Regions from separate parts of the Homo sapiens genome. Here region 2 is linked to region 1. The links are contacts of gene promoters, found by promoter capture Hi-C in human tissues and cell types (Jung and others, 2019). All regions are on one chromosome and are shown on one strand. The core of a region is centred on a gene start or on the middle of the fragment in contact, and the rest is flanking DNA. Distances in the headings are between cores, read along the strand shown. Region 1 holds the start of RIT2 (Ras like without CAAX 2). Region 2 has its middle 59 kb from the start of RIT2.

Region 1 (3,541 bases), core at 464-2,963:
TGTAAAGTATAACTTCATTTTATATAGATCATGTTGTCTCTATCCTTCCTCCATCCCTTCCTCCTTCCTTAAATCCTAACCTATTTTGATTCCTTCCTTCTCAAATCATTATATTTAGAGGAGAAAGCTTTTTAAAAATTCCTCATTTATACACAATTACAAAGCTTTTCTTTCATATTTTTGCCTCCCTAGAAGAGATGAATAATTTTTTTCACTTTGATATGCATTTTGCTACTGACCACATCCAGATGTACCTATTTCTTTTATTTTTTATGAGAATTCTCTTTTGTAGGGTGAGGAGAAGAGGTAGGGGTGCTGAATTTTATGTTTCTTACTATCTTTAACTTTGTTGTCCACTAAAGTCACAATCTCCTTCCTCTTCCTTTACTGTTCAGTTTTCCTATCCCTTGTGGACCCATCCACCAAAGTTGTTAGTTTTTTGGTTTCTTCTGCCGAAAATATTGTCTTCGTCTTTTAATTTTTTTGTCAACACTAAAACTACTGATTTGTTTTGATGCTTTTTGTCCATGCTAACTATAATATTTTTTCTACCTTTTAGAATTCCCAAAGATATATTCCCAGTGGAGATATTTAATATTTATATAAAAAGCTATATTTATTTATTTTCTAGTGATAGCCATAGCTCCGAGCTATCTAACATTTGATCAGCCAAAAAACTACTATGTATCTATTTTTTTAATTTTTTTATATTTGGCCTTTTAGGCTCCTCAAGAATCCCAACAACTGACACTTCCGTTCTTTATGTACCAAAAGAAATTTGCTATTCTTCATCTCTATTATCACCTCATCTTCATTTATTTGTGTAGCTTTCTCCTTTAATTGACCACAAAGTTTAGTTTGATCACCCTGCACAGGACTCACAATGAATATCATTCCATAAATCACTGCCACTTTCAAAAACCAACTTTCTTTTGGTATTCAAAGCCCACACACACCATGTCAGACTACAGATGAGGAAAAAGAACCTCCTAATGAAAGAAACAAACACAACAATCAACACCCATCATCCCGAGTATATGTCTGTGTTTGTAACTGTGTTTAATTGAATATTCATAGCACTTCTTTCTTTATGTGAAGATTTTTGAGACTAGGAGCACATTTTTCTCATACCATGACAATTTCATACTTATTTTTATTATTAAAAAAGACCTATACACTAAGAGCAAATATCACCCAGCATGAAATCAAAGAAAACAATCATCCTCTTAAGGTTCTGAGGATCATCACTGGCTGTCTGCATTATCCTGACTCATCAGCATCGGTTTAACAGTCCTGACACTTTGGAGCATCCTGCCAGACCCATACTCTGTGTTTAACTGCCACAGTTCACCTCTAACAGCATCAGCAATATCATTTTTCTTTCACTCTATAGAGTTGTCTCTATAGAGGTCCCTCCTTCCCCAGCATTTGGTGTGAAAACTTACCGCTTTTACCAACTCCCCCTGCTCCCAGCATTACCACCTTGTACTCTCTGGACCCGCCTGATGCGCTGCCCGGGGAGCAGCTGGCTTCATTTTCTACCTCCATCTTACCCGAGGGACCGGAGGAAAAAAAGAAGGAGAAAGTCACCCGTGTCAGGTGCTTGCTCGAATATTAAGCAACTCTAAAACTGTGTCAAAGCAAAGGTTTTAGTACGAGGTAAGAACCATCAGCGTCGGGCTGGCTGCTGGTCCTCCGCTCGAGCGGGTCTCATAGCAACCACTTCAATTGCTTCCAATAAAAATCTGGCTTTTGCATCCCCCACCCTTCCTTCCGATCCTTCACTCTTTCACGTCTCCTACAATCTCTCTCTCTCTCTCTCTCTCATTTTCATTTCCTCCCTCATTTGATTCTTTCTCCATTTCCCTTCCCCACTGTCTGTTTCTCTCCTTTCTCTTTCCTGCCTACCCCCTGCACAGTCACAGTTGTCAGTGGCACACACACATTCGACCCCTTTTCAGGCTGCGCTGCTAGAATGGAGTGAATCTGAGACCTCACAGGAGTTGCTATGTCTCACAGGATGACTTCTGTAGGTACAGCTTCAAAGATGCTATTTTCTTTTAATCAAAGTCAATTAATAAGGATTTCTTCTGCTTATAGTCTTGCATTTTATCACTCTTCTATTGCAGTTTTCATTCCGGGAAAATGGAAAAGCAAAACAAAAACAAAACAGAACAGTAACTCAGGGCTCATAAGGATGGATCTTCAGTGTTATTGAAATAACAGCCGGCTAACAGGAATTGTTCAGCTCACTAGACAGTTGCAGGTTTAACATAGGGGGGTAATTGAATTAGATCATTGTCATATTTGGACAAGGCTCATGCTTGTTTACGTTAAGTTATTAGAAACAACTTAAATCACAAGGACTATCAAGCATGAAAGAGATAATTGATAAATATTTTTACTGACAATTATACTAGCATAAAAGATTGTAGAAGAATATTTTTAAATGTCCAAACTATTATTACCTGTTTGAATTCTTATAAAGCTTTGCGGTCTTTGTTTTTCTCTAAAGAACTTCTAAACTACAGAGGGTCAAGAATGTTTTCAATAATTCCTAATTGTCATAATAAGATCCTGTCTTTTAATCAACATGATGATGTTTAACATGTTTATTGTCTATTTTCTAAAGCTTGAATCATTATCAGATGCAGACAAGTGTTTGGTGTGCATAGACTAGACTTGTCTTTCTATCTAGATTTTAAGCTCCACTAGGAAAAGAACTATATTTAGTCCATTTCTTGTGATTCTATAATATGTGCACTGAGTAGGCACTCAATATATACTTGCTGGTTTCTGTAGAGGCTTCAAATTGTTATAGCCAAGAGCACAGTCTCTGAAGCCAGAATGCCTGTGTTCAAATCTGGGCTTAGCCACTTACCAGCTATATGACCTTAGGCAAATTCCTTCACCTCTCTGTGCCTCAATTTCTTTATCACTGAATAGTTAATTAAAACCCTACTTTGTTAACTCATTAAGTGAGCTAATATTTATATAGTGCTTAAAACTGTGTCTGACAAGTGATAAGTACCACACAGGTATATGATATGAAGAGTATGTTATTATTTTGAATCTGTGCTGCTGTCAGTCTACTGTTTACAAACACTCGCCCAAGAAGAGAAGATTATCTTTTCATGTGTTTATTGGCCATCTGTATATCTTCTTTGCCAAAGTATCTGTTCAAGTCTTTTGCTTATTTTTATACCAAGGTGTTTATTTCCTTATTGCACTTTGAGAATTCTTTATATATTTCGGATGTAAGTCTTTTATCATATAAATATTCTGCAAATATTTTCCTCTAGTGTGTGGTTTTTCTTAACAGTAGCTTTCAAAGATCAGCAGTTTTAAATTTTGATGGGGTCCAATTTGTAATCTCTTTCTTTTACAGATCATCCATCAGGTTGTAAATGAAACTTTGCCCAATTATTCCATTCCCACTTTTCTATCTTTTTTACTCTTTGATTGTGAATTCAGTCAATGTCATAGGTCCACTTATCATCTTTCTATAGGTAACTGCCAAGTTTGTAATTCTGGACCCAGT
Region 2 (3,176 bases), core at 250-2,749, 59 kb after region 1:
CACCAGTAATGTCAGGTGACCATCAGGTGATGCTCAGGAAGTTGTTAACTGTCTCACTAAAATAATGATTGGTCACAGCCAGGGAAAGGCAGTGTCCTTTGGTATCAGCAGCTTCCTGGTGATCAGCAGCTTCCTGGTGATCAGTAGCTTCCTAATATGAGCTCAGGAGTTGGGTGACTGGGCTCAAGCATGTGCATTAAGAGTTTAACTGGTATATGACCTGCTAGAAACATTTGACTGGTAAGGGAAAAATGCCTCAAGGGAACATACGGACAGCTCCAGTAAACACACTCTGCATGCTTCCCTCCCAAGCACTAGCAGGCCACTGAGCATGTGGACAGCCTACCCTGAAGGAAGAATCAGGGGAGAAGGGACACAAGACGCTGGAAGTATAAAACTTCAAGTCAACAGGTCAAACTGCACACTTGATTTCTCAAGTCGCCCGCTTGGCCCTCTTCCACATGTACTTTACTTCCTTTCATTCTTACCCTAAAACTCCTCAGTAAGCTTTCACTCCCGTTCTAAAACTTGCCTCGGTCTCTCCTCCTCGGTCAAATTTTTTCTTCTGAGGGGGCAAAAATTGAGGTTGCTGCAGACCCCTATGAATTTGCTGTCAGTAACACTAATTCTAAAATCTGTAAGAAAACAAAAAAGACCAAGAAAACATAATCGGTGTTAGTGAAGAAAAATATTAAAAGAATTTAGTATACTATCAAGAATGATCAATGAAATAATAATAAAAACATTAATTAATCAACATACAAGGGGAACAAAATAGGCCCACACACATATGAAAATAAGATTTACAAAAAAGGTGATACTGCTGAGTAGTGGAGGAAAGACGATCTTTTCAGTAAATGGCATTAGGTCAATTGAATGTCCATATAGCAAAAAATAAATCTTGAGCCACCTTCACATTGTAAACCATAATTAATCTCATGTAGACTATATATATAATCTTACAGTAAAATAATACAACTTCTAAAGAGTAATACACGAAAATAACAACGTGAGCTTCGCAAAAGATTTTTAAACAGGATATAAGTAAGTACACATGAACAAAAGATTGAAAAATGTAGACAATATTAAAATTAAGAAAAATATATTCCTGAATTTCAAGGATGAAAAGTTAATATAAATAACATGAAAAAGAATAATCATAGGCTTATCTCCATAGATTCAGAACAAACTTCTCTTAAAATTCAACACTAATTTATAATAAAAGTGCTTTGAAAACAAGAAATGCAGGGTAATTTCTCTAATATCAGAAATATCTAAAACAACAAATATTCATAATCATGAAATATTAATAATGTTGTTTCTAGCATTGGAAATAAGACAAGAATGCCTGTTTTCATAAGAGAATGTATGTCTGCAATCTCCACTTTTTTTCAGCCTTATGTTGGTGATCCTAGTCAGTACACTAGCCAAAAAATAAAAATAAAAATAAAAATAAATTTTTTAAGAATTGCAAAAAAAAGAAATAAAACTGTCACTATTAGCAGAAAACATTTGAGTGCACCAAGAATATCCAAAATGATCTACAGTCAACCTATTAGAATTCATAAGTGAGCCAGCATCTGGAAAGCAGAGTCTTTCCACATTATGACAACACTTCCATTCTTCTTTCCAGTAGCTTATTATATGAAACACAAATGCCATCTCTCTGGATACCTCGTTGACCTAAACTGTGCCTTGCCTTTTTTACATTGAGCATGCCATATTCATCATTCTTTGGGGCCATCTAATCAAACCTATCTCTAAACAAATATCTGTGTTCTCTTTATCATATTGTCCCTAAATGCATCCACATAACCATGTGACTCTGTCTTCTACCCTGTAATTCTTTATCGGATCATTCACATGACACTAGATTTGTATCAATATTTTCTAGCTTAGCAATAAACTGGAAACTCCTTGAAAGCAGGGAACACATACTGAACAAATTTGTTTTCAATTATGTCTTTTAAGCTTGATATACTCAAAAGATATTGATCAAATTAACAAACAAAACAGCTTACTAAAAAGAAGTGCCGTAAAATGACATTTTGACAATTTTTTTTTTGTACTGCAGCTTTTTCTCTGTTTGAACAGCTTGTCTGACAATCTATATAAACACCTTGCCCCAACTCCTTGTTCCTAAATCCAGATAGCTAGTCATGGACAATCCCTTTAATCAATCAGTTTGCAACTCAAACAAGTAACAATCTGGATGATCTGAAAGAAAGAACAAAATGGGCTTTCCCTGGGCACAGCTGGCATGATGTACAGGGAGTCAGAAGATGTTCTTCACTGTAATAATTATTTTGACTCTTACTGAATGGCTTAAACTCCCTGGGTATCATTCACAATCTATTTTTGTCTGTAAGAATCTTAACCTTCCCTTTGATTGAATTTCAGGTATAGTACAACACTGGATGAAAATCAGTAGGAAATTAATATTCAGACAGCTATTAAGGATGTTAAAATTAACAGTATTATTATTAAAGTTGGCATGATAATTTATATCCAGGCCATATAACTACATTTTTGCCTTTCCAGCTGCATAATGTTAGGACTCACTTTGGATTTCCAGCACAGAGTATTATGTCATAAGCCCTGAGTCATTCAAAAACACCTGATGAGTACGTTCTATGTCAAGGAAATATATGAGCACTGTTGAGACACAGCGAACAAGGCAGACAGATTATTTGACCCCATGATGTTTACAATTTAGTGCTATAAATATTTTTATAAGTTAATAATGGGTCCAAGCTATTAACCCCTACACTGGTTTATCATCTGAGACTATATTTTACAGTCTGTACTGTGTCTTAAGAATATTATATTTCATTATTTTACTTCTCTCAAAATGCTGAGGAGAGATTTCTTTTATTTAATTCATATTTTTCTCCTTGTCTTAAAATATATTCAAAATAATTTAAATATCAAGTTAAGTTCAGTGATTCTGGAATATCTATAAATGTTTTTTTTTTGAAATTTATTTATTTATTTATTTATTTTTATTATTATGCTTTAAGTTTTAGGGTACATGTGCACATTGTGCAGGTTAGTTACATACGTATACATGTGCCATGCTGGTGTGATGCACCCACTAACTCGTCATCTAGCATTAGGTATATCTCCCAATGCTATCCCTCCCCCCTCCCCCCACCCCACAACAGTCCCCAGAGTGT

Evidence for each region. The method cuts DNA at HindIII sites, captures the fragments that hold promoters and counts their contacts. A contact is called where the count stands out against the background at its distance.
Region 2: a contact is called between a fragment that was not itself captured here and the fragment with the promoter of RIT2 in region 1, in 2 of the 25 tissues and cell types used here (adrenal gland and pancreas).

The regions. Positions count from the first base shown.
Region 1 is chr18:43,113,972-43,117,512 of GRCh38, forward strand. It overlaps RIT2 (Ras like without CAAX 2), which reads right to left and starts at 1,714. Exons shown (of 5, transcript NM_002930.4): 1 at 1,446-1,714. The coding sequence starts at 1,548. The HindIII fragment of the contact is 9,119 bases long and covers 1-3,541 here.
Region 2 is chr18:43,172,851-43,176,026 of GRCh38, forward strand. No RefSeq gene overlaps it. Among named protein-coding and RNA genes, the nearest start is that of RIT2, 59 kb to the left of the region's middle. The HindIII fragment of the contact is 4,069 bases long and covers 1-3,176 here.